2 separate regions of the Homo sapiens genome follow, and region 1 is linked to region 2. The links are contacts of gene promoters, found by promoter capture Hi-C in human tissues and cell types (Jung and others, 2019). All regions are on one chromosome and are shown on one strand. Each heading gives the region's core, a stretch centred on a gene start or on the middle of the fragment in contact. The rest is flanking DNA. Distances are from core to core; before and after follow the strand shown. Region 1 holds the start of LOC124903139 (a long non-coding RNA gene). Region 2 holds the start of PDX1 (pancreatic and duodenal homeobox 1).

Region 1 (6,786 bases), core at 1,720-4,219, 91 kb before region 2:
ATCAATGAGCCAGGAGCTCAGGATAAAATAAAGTGTCAATGTCTTTGTCTCCTTGAGGGGAAGCTTTAGGACAGAGTGCCAGGCAGGGGTGAGTGGGCCGAGGAAAGCCCAGCTCTGGGCTCCACGGACGGCACGAGGAGGTTCCCTCTCTGCAGGCGTTGGCAGTTACACCCTGGGTGTGCAGGCTCCCAGCGTCTCCTCGGAGAACTCAGGAAACTCACCAAGGCGTTCGCTGAATAGGAGTCCGGCTTTGAAACTGTGAAGTCGCAGCGCCCCCTGCCTGTGCGTGGCCGCCATAGCTAGGAAGCCTTCCCAAGTCGGGAGGACCCTCCCCAAGGAGCTCCGGAGGCTCCCCCAAAGCCGGGAGAACCTCGCACAGGCATCCAAGAGCAGCTCTGCTCCCATGGGGACCTGGAACTTATTTGGAACTCAGCAGTCCCTGCTCTTTCTTCCCTTCCTGCTCCCCCACCTACCTAAAATCCCAGGAGCTAGCAAAGGACAAAGGCTCTCCCCAGAGCTTCTGCCACACAGGGGTGCTGATGGGTGGGCTGCAGGTGGGCCTGAGCCCCTGCCCCCCTTAGCTCCGGCTGATTCTGTTTGTCGCCGACCTCAGCTGACTGGATGCTGTCATGGTGGCATGGCGATTATTATAGGCATCTCGGTTATATTACATTACGGTCTTCTCACTTTATTGAGATCATCTCAATTACTGCTCAAAGATTAGTGCAAGCTGCCATGACTCATATGCATCCGGTGTTTACTCTTACTTCATGGCCCTAGTAGTGCTGTATTGATGCCAAAGCGTGAGAGACTGTCACTTGATTACGATTTCCAAAGGCTACTGTAATGAATCTGGCCCAATTCCTGACTTGGCTTGGACAAGCCTCCTCCCTCCTCCACCCACTATCCCATTCCTAGGTTCCATTTTCACTTTAGTTCTTCTACCAGAGTTAGATGCATGTTTTCCTTAATCTTTACATTTAAAAATAAAATTAAAATGCAAAGTCGTCACATGAAAACACACTTCTCAATTTTCTTTTTTTAAATATCCCAAACATCAAAACAGTACTACTCAATAAACACCCTCATCAAGTGCTATGAATACACCAGTTGGCATCAGATGCGTCTCCCTAGACAGCAACGTTTCTGTGTCCACGGATCAACAGTCCACTTATGACAGAGCTTCCGATTCAGGCAGGCCCTGGCAGGCTAATTTCACCTCCATAATTTTATATGCAAGTTAATGCTACTCCCTGAAACTGCTCTTCCCTGAGTTCTGCCTGTCAGGGATGGAGATGGAGAAGCTATCCATAACACTTCTCTCCTCCTTAGCCCCACAGGCAACATGCCAGCCTGTCCTCCACTCTGCCTTCAAAGCATGCTCTGCGGCTGGCGACTTCCTGCCACTTGGACTGCTACCACCAGGAACCAATTTCCCATCTATCTTCAGCTCCAAGGCTCCTACCCTCACCCTGCCTCCCTCCTGTCACACCAGCCAGAAGGATCCTTGCAAACCCCACCTCAGATCATGTCAATTACTAAAAATAAATTCAGGGGCTCTCCACTGCACTCTGTAATTTGACTCAAAATTATTAGCTTGGCCCTCCAGGGTTCACCTAATCCGCCCTCTGCCTAATTCTCCAACCTTCTTTGGGGTTTCTGCTCTCCCCATTCCTGATGATCCAGCCACATGCCTCTCCTGGAATTTATGCCACCTTCCCATCTCAGAGTCATGGTTCAGCGTTTTTCACTGGTTTATTCTTATTTATCCTGCAGGCTCAGCTTTAATGTTCCTCCTGTGAGCTCACAACCTATATTATTCTTTCTCATTGCAACATGTTCTTTGCATTTACATGCAACCATTTGTGTATCTATTGTGTATGATCCCTCGGGGGCTGATACATTTTGGGACAGGAAGGAAAGCATCCTTTTGTATGAGATGTATCCCCAGTACCAAGCTCCAGGGTCAGCTGGAGTAGTTGTTGAGTTGACATGGATGGAATTGGTGAAGAAATGAATGGGCTGTATAAGGTTGACAGTATTCACTCATAAAGGTTTAGTGACTTGACTCCTGCCACACCCTCAGCAAGCAGACATGCAGTTCCTAGGTGAACTGCACCATCTGGAAGACTCCCTAGGAGAAGAAATGGGGAGAGGGGCTGCAGGAGGCAGGTTAGAAAATTCTAGAACAGTTGGTTCTCCAAGACAGAGTCCCCTTAGAGTGGGGCTGTAAAGATATGTGAGAAGCATAGTCAATGTTCACACTTGTGCTAGCTTTGGCAGCACATATACTAAAACTGAAACAATACAGAGAAGATTAGCATGGCCCCTGTGCAAGGATGACATGCAAATTCGTGAAGCGTTCCATATTTTTTAGTGGAAGCAATTTTGGAGGTAGTGGAAGCTACAATGATTTTGGCAATTACAATAATCAGTCTTCAAATTTTGGACCCATGAAGGGAGGAAATTTTGGAGGCAGAAGCTCTGGCCCCTGTGGTGGTGGAGGCCAATACTTTGCCAAACCACGAAACCAAGGTGGCTATGGTGGATCCAGTAGCAGCAGCAGCTATGGCTTTGGCAGAAGATTTTAATTAGTAAACAAAGCTTAGCAGGAAGGGAGAGCCAGAGAAGTGACAAGGAAGCTACAGGTTACAAGAGGTTTGTGAACTCAGCCAAGCACAGTGGTGGCAAGGCCTAGCTGCTACAAACAAGTCATGTTTTAGACAAATACTCGTGTATGGGCAAAAAACTTGAGGACTGTATTTGTGACTAATTGTATAAGAGGTTATTTTAGTTTCTGTTCTGTGGAAAGTGTAAAGCATTCCAACAAAGGGTTTTAATGTAGATTTTTTTTTCACCCATGCTGTTGATTGCTAAATGTAATAGTCTGATCGTGACGCTGAATAAATGTCTTTTTTAAAAAATGTGCTGTGTAAAGTTAGTCTACTCTGAAGCCATCTCGGTAAATTTTCCCAACAGTGTGAAGTTAGAATTCCTTCAGGGTGATGCCAGGTTCTATTTGGAATTTATATGCAACCTGCTTGGGCGGAGAAGCCATTGTCTTCAGAAACCTTGGTGTAGTTGAACTGATAGTTACTGTTGTGACCTGAAGTTCACCATTAAAAGGGATTACTCAAGCAAAATCGTGGAATTATTGGTGATAAAAGTGATTGTTGGCACATCCTATGCAATATATCTAAATTGAATAACGGTACCAGATAAAATTAGAGATGGGAATGAAGCTTGTGTGTCATCCATTATCATGTGTAATCAATAAACGATTTAATTCTCTTGAAAAAAAATGTTCACACTTGTTGGGAAAAAAAGTCTCCCTTGGTTTCATAATGCAGAATGTTGAAAGTAAGGCTCTCCCTATGACGCCCTTAGCCCCACCTCCACCCCCAAATAACGGGAAATACGGGCCGTCTTCTCTGAAGGAAGATTTTTGGGTTTATCCGAAGAAGGCAGGTGTAAAAAGCGACTGGGAAACAGCAATATGCCCTTCTGCCTCTCCTCTGAGCAGAGCGAAAGGCTGCTGGCCACGGGAATGTGGGTCTCGGTGATCCCCGCAGCCCGCAGGCCCCACGGACCCAGGAGAGGCCGGCGCGGAGCCTGGGGCGGACTAACAGCAGAGGGCGCCATAGAGCAGGCCGCGCCCGGCAGGTGCGGCCCCCGCGCCCGGGTGAAGTCCGCTGGCCGGGAGCAGTTCCAGCCAGACCCTGCAGCTCTCAGACTGGGGCGGCCCTCTCCCTTGCCCTCCTCTGCTCGGCTGTGATTTCGCTGTGCTTCTGTGGGAGAAAATGCTATAAGTGACTCTATGGACATCCGTAAAAATAAATGCCAGCTACTATGACTATTCAGGTGTACAGGTGACATGCGATATTCAGAAAGAAGCTAAGAGTCTGGGGTAAGGGTGGGAAGGGGGATGTGGTTCGTTGTTTTTTGTTTTTCTGCTTGGCTTGTGGAGTCCGTTCAGTGTGTAGTGCTTTTTGTTTGTTTGGTTGGTTTTTTTAATGTCTTAGGTTAAATTTTGTCTTTCTGGGAAAAGCTACTTTGGTTAAAATTTGTCTTTCTGGGAAAAGCTACTTTTTCCCAGGATGATTTGACACAACACTGGTGCAATGCACTAACTTAGATCAAAGAAAACGGGCTGAAGAGACCATTTACCCACATGTAAATCCCAGTAGGCCGTTTTTTAAAGAACCTCCGCCGGGATTGGGAGTCATTCAATCAAGGAGCGTTAGAGCTGGAAGAAACTTTTGAAATTAAACCGCCTTTTTATTATTAGATTAAAAAGGAGGCCCAAAGAGGAGAAGGAACTTGTCCAAAGTCACAGCACCTTTGAATGCAGTGGGGCTGATTTCCAGTCTGGGGCACAAGGGAAACTTTTAGTGAAAGGTTGGTGGTGTGTGTTGTTAAGCTTTCATTCTATTCTCTATTATATAAACATTGTAAGGAAAATTGAGAAGATGCCATTATTTTAATTGCCAGAAATCCTCCCACATCAAGGCGATCATTGTTAATATTTTTGCTCTATAATTTTCCAGCCTTTTAAACTTATATATCAAAACTTGTATCAATACAAATTTATATCAGTTTACTAACACTGGATTACACCATCCTTATTGCTTTGCAACTACTTTTTTTTTTTGATCATCAATATAGCTTGAACACTTTTCCATGTCAACTAATATATATCTACATCATAATTTCTAACAGATGCATAACTATTCCCTTCAATGGGTGCACCTTCATTAGTTTAATCAAACCCTTATTGATGGGCATATAAGCTTTTTCCAATGTTCAACTTTTTTTTTTTTTTTTTTTTGAGATGGAGTCTGGCTCTGTCACCCAGGCTGGAGTGCAGTGGCATGATCTCAGTTCACTGCAAGCTCTGCCTCCCAGGTTCAAGCAATTCTCCCGCCTCAGCCTCCTGAATAGCCGGCATTACAGATACCTTCCATCACACCCGGCTAATTTTTGTATTTTAAACAGAGACGCGGTTTCACCATGTTGGCCAGGCTGGTCTAGAACTCCTGACCTCAGGTGATCTGCCCGCCTCGGCCTCCCAAAGTGCTGGGATTACAGGAGTGAGCCACCACACCCGGCCCAATGTTAAACTTTTATAACACATTTGCATTAAATATTCTTGTCCGTACATCTTTTGCACAGGTAATGTCCACCTATTGATGGGTGTGGCTTTTTGTAGGAATGCAGTGTGATGGTGTAGGCTGGGCTTGGACACTGCCTTGCAAACTTTCTGCATCTTTACACAAGCCACAACCTTACTAGGCCCCAATTCTCTCATCTTCAGGTGGAGGTGATCATAGTGCTTGTCTCCTAAGGGTGTTGGGAGGATTCAATGAGGTCATATATAGAAAGTGATTGGTCAGTGCCAAGCACAAACACGTCCTATATAAATGTGAACTCTTAGAATATTACTATCATTACCTCAAACCCTGAAGATTGGCTCAAAATAACCCTCATGGTTTTATTTTACTCTGATTGAGAGTAACTGGATTTCATGAAGAAGTGTTTAAGTGCTAAACTCTAGTAGCTAAAGCAATATCTCCTTTCTTTCTAACTTAATTCATCCAGAGGAAAAAATAATGATAAACGTAAATGGTGGATGGGTTCTTCAGCTACTTGTTATGTTCTGGTCATATAGCTTAATGCTAGCCCAAAGAGAAAAGTCTATATTGGCAAGGATGTGGAGAAATTGGAGCACACTATTGGTGGGAATGTAAAATGGTGTAGCTGCTATGGAAAACAGAATGACAGTTTCTTAAAAAATTAAACAGAATTACAATACGATCCCGAAATTTCACTTCAGGGTATATACGCAAAAGAATTGGAAGCAAGGACTTGCAGAGATGTTTGTATGTGTTCATAGCAGCATTATTCACAATAGTCAAAGGTGGACATAACCCAAATGTCCATCAGTGAATGAATGGATAAACAAAATGTGGTATACACATACAATGACATATTATTCAGCCTTAAAATTAAAGGAATGCGTACCACCTGCTACAACATGGATGGACTTTAAAGACATCATGCTAAGTGAAATAAGCCAGTCACAAAGGGACAAATATGGTATTATTCCACTCATGAGATACCTAGAGCAGTCAAATTCATTAAGACAAAAGGAGAATGATGGTTTCCAGGGGCTGGAGGAGGTGGCGGGGATGAGGCTGCTGTTTAATGGGTGCGGAGTTTCAGTTTTGCAAGATGAAAAGAGTTCTGGAGATGATGGTGGTGATGGTTGCACAACAATGTACCTAATGCCACTGAACTGTCCATCAAATGGTTAAGTTGGTAAACTTTGTGATATGCATGTGTTACCACAATTAAAAACAAAATTCTAAAAGAAAGAGGCATAGTGTCTCATTGAAGGTTCTTAAGTTCCCTTCCTAAGCATCAAGTCTTTTGTGATAGATAAAGCCCCCTCTGATCCCTTCTCCTTTGGAAAATGCTCAAAGCACAGCCTCTGGCTTCCCAGTGCCTTCGAACTCGTCTCCTCTGTTTTGTCCTTATATCCAGGGTCATCACCATTTCACAGGCCTAAGCAGTGAGGGGGTGAACACTGTAGCAGAAGCCGTGGTCTCTGAAAGTTTGTTTTTAATCTAGGAAGATGCCATGAGTCACCAGGACACATTTCAGGTTCATATTCCCATCTGAGGCATTGGAAACCCATTCCTACCAACCAAATGTATGAGTTACCCACATTTCTTCTGCTCGGTCCCCACCCTCACCTTCCGTCTCTCTCCCTCCCTCCTCTCACAG
Region 2 (6,259 bases), core at 118-2,617:
TAAAACACAAATATTTCCAGTAGGAAGAAAGAAATACATTAAGATTGACTCTCAAAGGTCTGGATGTTGGTGCGTTGTTTAGGAAAGGCGGAGCAGTGATTTTTCTCTGGCTTGGTTCTTTGTGGTTCAAGCTCTCTCTTGCTGAGACGTTTCTGCAAAGCTGTCTAGTTTTTCTAAAACCCACGGTGGCGTTTCGAGAAACGTCCTCATTTCGGGAGTATCCAGTCAGAGGCTGGTCAGGCCGCCAGGCCTAGCGGATCATGCCCAGGCAGGGGGTTGGACGTCACCGCCACCCGGAGGTCATCCATCCGCGTCAGTGGGTGCAGAAAAAGTGGCCCTGTTTAAGTCAGGACCCCAGAATGCCCAGAAGTTACTGAATGGTTTGAAGCCAAGCACAGATGTTATCATGGAAAATGCAGCGTTTTTATTTCTTTTTCTAAATATGTAACTCTTCCTCCACTTCCCCCTCTCCTGCTTGCCTTATTTCAATTGCAAGCAGAAGAGAGTGAGTGTTCTCTGCCGGCAAACTCCGCCAGGGTCCCGGCCCGTAGAGAGTCGTCAAGGGTCTGGAACCCCCGTGCCAACACCTGCCCCTGCTTCGCAGCCCCAAGAGGAAGGCCGCGTCTTTCCCCCTCGCTGTATTGGGAAGCTACGTTCCGGGCTGGCCAAATGGGCCCCAATTTTCCAAAACCCAAATTTGTAATACCCTTCAATTTTTTAAAAAAAAGAATTTAAAAAAGTCTCTGTGAATGCTTCAGAAGTTACCGTTTACACCCCAGAAGTACTTGCAGCACATCCACAAGTAAAAACACACAACGAATGCCAGAGTTTCGTGTGTTTTTTAACCGACATCTTTGTGGCTGTGAACAAACTTCATAAATAAAATAGAATCAAATGCTTCTGACCTAGAGAGCTGGGTCTGCAAACTTTTTTTTTATCGTATTCCGCAACAGTTAAATAAAAAATTAAAAACTCAACATGTCTCCTTGTAAACTACATCAATTAACAAACACACTATGTCCATTATCAAATATAATAGAAAAAATATAGGAAAATAGAAAATAGAAAAATATAGGAAAATAGAAACTTTTAAGCCACGGTGAAAATGTTTCTATAAATGAGTGGTTCTAATGTTTTCGTGAGCGCCCATTTTGGGGAGCACCGCCAGCTGCCCGTTCAGGAGTGTGCAGCAAACTCAGCTGAGAGAGAAAATTGGAACAAAAGCAGGTGCTCGCGGGTACCTGGGCCTAGCCTCTTAGTGCGGCCAGCCAGGCCAATCACGGCCCCCGGCTGAACCACGTGGGGCCCCGCGGAGCCTATGGTGCGGCGGCCGGCCCGCCGGTCCGCGCTGGCTGTGGGTTCCCTCTGAGATCAGTGCGGAGCTGTCAAAGCGAGCAGGGGTGGCGCCGGGAGTGGGAACGCCACACAGTGCCAAATCCCCGGCTCCAGCTCCCGACTCCCGGCTCCCGGCTCCCGGCTCCCGGTGCCCAATCCCGGGCCGCAGCCATGAACGGCGAGGAGCAGTACTACGCGGCCACGCAGCTTTACAAGGACCCATGCGCGTTCCAGCGAGGCCCGGCGCCGGAGTTCAGCGCCAGCCCCCCTGCGTGCCTGTACATGGGCCGCCAGCCCCCGCCGCCGCCGCCGCACCCGTTCCCTGGCGCCCTGGGCGCGCTGGAGCAGGGCAGCCCCCCGGACATCTCCCCGTACGAGGTGCCCCCCCTCGCCGACGACCCCGCGGTGGCGCACCTTCACCACCACCTCCCGGCTCAGCTCGCGCTCCCCCACCCGCCCGCCGGGCCCTTCCCGGAGGGAGCCGAGCCGGGCGTCCTGGAGGAGCCCAACCGCGTCCAGCTGCCTTTCCCATGGATGAAGTCTACCAAAGCTCACGCGTGGAAAGGCCAGTGGGCAGGTAAGCCTGGCTCCCCACCCCTTTCTCCTTTCCGGTTCTCACCCGGCCGCCTTACCTCCAAGCGCTCCCAGGAGCCTTCTCTCTGTTCCCGGCGCCTTGGATTATCCCGGGTCGGACTAAACTACATCAGGGAGCTACCGAGCCCATCCCTCACAGCAGTGCTTCTCTAGTCCAGTTTGAAGCATCTTTCCCACCCAGCTCTCCTGGGAGTGTACACTCCTTCCTTCCCTGTTCGCTGAGCCCATCTTCGCCCCAGGAGCCCGCGCTCCCAGCGCCATCCTTAGAGAGCCGAGGCTGAGTCCTGCTCAGGGCTTCGGACACTACAGATCCTCCTCCAGCAGGGGATCCGGGAACCCAGGACTCCTTGGTAGTGCACATCGAGGAAGCCGAGTAGGGACATGGGTGCCTCGGACCCAGGCCCCAGATCGCCTTCGGAGCCCCGGAGCCCCTCACTTCCCGCGCTTCGTTAAGGAAGGGCAGGCATCTAGGGGCGCCAGGTAGGTGCAGAAAGGCAGGGAGGGAAAGGAAACTGCACCCAACCCAGCAGTGTCCGGCTGCCCTGGTTGTGGAAACAGGATAGGAGTAAAGAGGAAGGGGCTGGGGCAAGGCGGGGGCTCACCGCGAGGCTGAAAGCCGGCCTCTCAACGTCAGAGCCTGGCAGCTAGGAGAGCAATCTGAGAAGCGAATTCGTTTTTCACCAACCGAAAGCAATTGAAGCTGTCTCCCCGCACCGCTTCCCAGGAAGTAATTTTTCAGGAGATGGGCGCTCCCTGCCTAGCTGGTGGGGAGGCGAGAGGCCTGGTTCCTGCGGCCCTCCGCGCCGGCAGAGAACAGAAGGTCTTTCCCGGAGCCGGGAGCCGGAGGCACGGGGTAGCCCCCGGGTCCTTTGCGGCCCCGCGCGAGCGGCAAGTTCCGGCGCGGCCTGTGTCGTCGCCGCTACTCACTGTCATCGCTGCCGTGCCTCAGCCACTTCTGGTCACACCTGCACCGCAAATAGTTGCCTTTTCCTTTCAACTGGCAGCCGGGAGTAGGGGGAAGCAGCTCGAGCCGGCGTCCCCCGGCCCACCCCGAAAATCCTCAGCGCCCATCTGCGGGGTCTGGCCAGCCCTGCCTGACACTGACCCCAGGCGCAGCCAGGAGGGGCTTTGTGCGGGAGAGGGAGGGGGACCCCAGCTTGCCTGGGGTCCACGGGACTCTCTTCTTCCTAGTTCACTTTCTTGCTAAGGCGAAGGTCCTGAGGCAGGACGAGGGCTGAACTGCGCTGCAATCGTCCCCACCTCCAGCGAAACCCAGTTGACAGGGGCGCCAGAAGCTGCCGCGGCGCCTCTGCAAATTTATCCAGCTCGCGCAGCCCGGGCCAAAGGCCTTGAAGTCTCCGGAAATGCGGGGTTCTTAGGAGGCGGGAGGACAGTCCCTCGAACAAAGGTGGGGGGCTCCTCGTCCTCACCCAGTTTTCTTCCAGGGCTGCCTCCCCTCCAGACCTCTCTTCTGGCCTCCTAGGCCCTCGGAGCTCCTGCTTTCCCACCCTGGGCCTTCCTCAGGAAATGGGCGACATCAGGGTCCCGAAAGAGGATTTGTGAGGTGGAGTAACTTCCCTATCCCAACCCAAGGGGTGATACCTCTGCTCTGGAGGACTTGGGCTTAGGCTGACCCAAGAAGCCAGAAAGTAAAACCAGAAGGCAAATCAGCAGCCTTGGCGAGGGTTCGGGGACCCAAGGAGGGCGACACTCTCGGGCTGGAGTTGGCCCCAGGCCTTTGCTGGCGCCCTCTAACCCGCTGCATGCTCGACTCTCGGGGAAGGAGACGACCTCCCCTCTCTTCCCCTGGAAGCCGTCTGCGGGGCCGGCTGCTATCCCCGCGTTCCTCTAGGGGAAACTTCGATGGAGCCGAAATTCAAAAATTGCAAACCCACCTGCCCCTGGGAAGAGCGAAGTGACAAAAGGGCTCTCACTGGCAGTACGAATCTGAATGCTAATGACAACAGAGGTTTTGAAAAACATTGACCCCCAAATGCTTCAGCAGCGCTGTCCAGCTGGCACCTAAACTGCATCACTCTGCGCCTTGGGGAAGGGCCCAGGCTTGGCGACCTTGACCTTTTCCCACCATCCTCAACCTCCACCCCTGCCGCGTCGCGCTGAGCACAGGTCCCCCGGGAATAGTGCACCCCAGGAAGTCTCTCCCTGAGCAGTCTCTCGCAGGGACTTCACGAAGCCCTCTCGCAGGGACTATACGAAGCCCGCAGCCTAAGGCAGGAACCCAGAGACATGTCGGTTTAATGTAAAAACTTTGGAGAGCCTTTCAAAATGTTTATTGAAGGCCCGTCTCGCTTCTCTCCCAGGCGTGGGATGCCAGGTAGATTCGGGGATGCCCCCAGGGAGTAGAACTCTCCCTGGACTAGGGTTTGAGCCTCTGCTTCAGCTTCTGGCGCCTCTTCTCGACCTGGGGGGAAACCCAGTAGGGTTCCATCGCGAAATTAAACCCGCCCCCAACACACACACACTCGCCTTTCAATTCCTTAAGGCTTAGCCAACATTCACAGGAGAAATGTCCCCTGCCTTTGCTCTAAGACAAGCCTCTCCCCGGAACTTTGGTGGAACTTCCCGCGCCAGCGTCCACAGCCTGGGTGCAGTCAGTATTTTCCACAGAAAAGAAAAGATTGGGACCTGGCTGAGCGCAGCGGCAAACAGTGAATGTGGGTCTCCAACCTCCTGGGCCAGGGCGTCCTGTTGCCTCTTGGAGACACGAGAGGCTTGTTTCTGCACCACTACCACCTCCTCCGTAGGGCTGTCGGTTCTGCAGCTGGGCTAGGGCCCCTGTGTCTCCCCTCAACACCTCTGAGGGCATTTGGGATCCAGGGCGTAGAGTCTGGAGCTGCCAGAGTTCTGCCCTGGCCAACGTGACCCCCAGAACAATATTCCTTCACTTCGCGGGCAGAAGTCCGGCTGAAGTTAAAACAATTATGGAGAATTTGCTGGCTCTCAGGTTGGGACTAATTACGATATAACTATAGAGAGAGGAAACACATGGTCAGATATAACAAAATGTGTCACAGTCTCCATTAGCACAAAGATTTTCAAACTGCAGGTTGCACCCATTCGCAGGTCATAAAATCAATTTACTAGGTTGAGATTAGTATTTTTTAAACGAAATAGCAGATAATGGAGAGAAAAGTAGATAGCATCATACGTGGTAAACGTTTGTTTTATGTCCTTAAGATTTGTCAGTATAACTGACCTGCAGTGTCCGTGTGTGAACTACACAACGATCCGAAATGTATTTCTCACATTTGTGGGTCACCATCAGGAGGTTTTTTTTAGCCCTGGATTAAAGGCGTTTTATTGCCTTTGTAGGATCCAGCCGGTTTAACTATTATATACATTTAAATCAACATCAATCAGTTGATTAACACCGATTATATGAGCGCATTCAAGGACCACTCATTGGCAGAGCCAAGCTTAGGCTCACGGCGAGAGCTGACTCGAGTTTGGTCTCCAATAAAAAGGCTATCTTTATTAGGAAGGGCTTGAGTTACTAGGGAAGAGCTTCGCGCGCCTACACTAGGCGCTGAAATGGGATGCTGGGGCTTGGTGGCTCCGGCGGGAGCAGCTGGTAGGGCTAGGGCTCCCTGGCCCCCCTTGAAGGGGTTGGGCTGCGTGGGTGGGGGCTGTGCGGGGCTCCGGGGGCCACACTCACGCCCTGTGTCGCCCGCAGGCGGCGCCTACGCTGCGGAGCCGGAGGAGAACAAGCGGACGCGCACGGCCTACACGCGCGCACAGCTGCTAGAGCTGGAGAAGGAGTTCCTATTCAACAAGTACATCTCACGGCCGCGCCGGGTGGAGCTGGCTGTCATGTTGAACTTGACCGAGAGACACATCAAGATCTGGTTCCAAAACCGCCGCATGAAGTGGAAAAAGGAGGAGGACAAGAAGCGCGGCGGCGGGACAGCTGTCGGGGGTGGCGGGGTCGCGGAGCCTGAGCAGGACTGCGCCGTGACCTCCGGCGAGGAGCTTCTGGCGCTGCCGCCGCCGCCGCCCCCCGGAGGTGCTGTGCCGCCCGCTGCCCCCGTTGCCGCCCGAGAGGGCCGCCTGCCGCCTGGCCTTAGCGCGTCGCCACAGCCCTCCAGCGTCGCGCCTCGGCGGCCGCAGGAACCACGATGAGAGGCAGGAGCTGCTCCTGGCTGAGGGGCTTCAACCACTCGCCGAGGAGGAGCAGAGGGCCTAGGAGGACCCCGGGCGTGGACCACCCGCCCTGGCAGTTGAATGGGGCGGCAATTGCGGGGCCCACCTTAGACCGAAGGGGAAAACCCGCTCTCTCAGGCGCATGTGCCAGTTGGGGCCCCGCGGGTAG

What was found. Contacts are between HindIII fragments. The study calls those that stand out against the background at their distance.
Region 1: a fragment that was not itself captured here is called in contact with the fragment with the promoter of PDX1 in region 2 in 3 of the 25 tissues and cell types used here (H1 embryonic stem cells, mesendoderm cells and small bowel).

What each region holds. Positions count from the first base shown.
Region 1 is chr13:27,826,496-27,833,281 of GRCh38, forward strand. All of the region lies in intron 3 of PLUT (PDX1 associated lncRNA, upregulator of transcription), which reads right to left. It overlaps LOC124903139 (a long non-coding RNA gene), which reads left to right and starts at 3,715. Exons shown (of 2, transcript XR_007063734.1): 1 at 3,715-3,907. It also overlaps the pseudogene RNU6-73P. RefSeq lists an enhancer at 369-868. The HindIII fragment of the contact is 3,272 bases long and covers 1,334-4,605 here.
Region 2 is chr13:27,918,633-27,924,891 of GRCh38, forward strand. It overlaps PDX1 (pancreatic and duodenal homeobox 1), which reads left to right and starts at 1,368. Exons shown (of 2, transcript NM_000209.4): 1 at 1,368-1,912; 2 at 5,624-6,259. The coding sequence starts at 1,507. The coding sequence ends at 6,069. RefSeq lists enhancers at 5,170-5,837, 5,838-6,259. The HindIII fragment of the contact is 14,480 bases long and covers 1-6,259 here.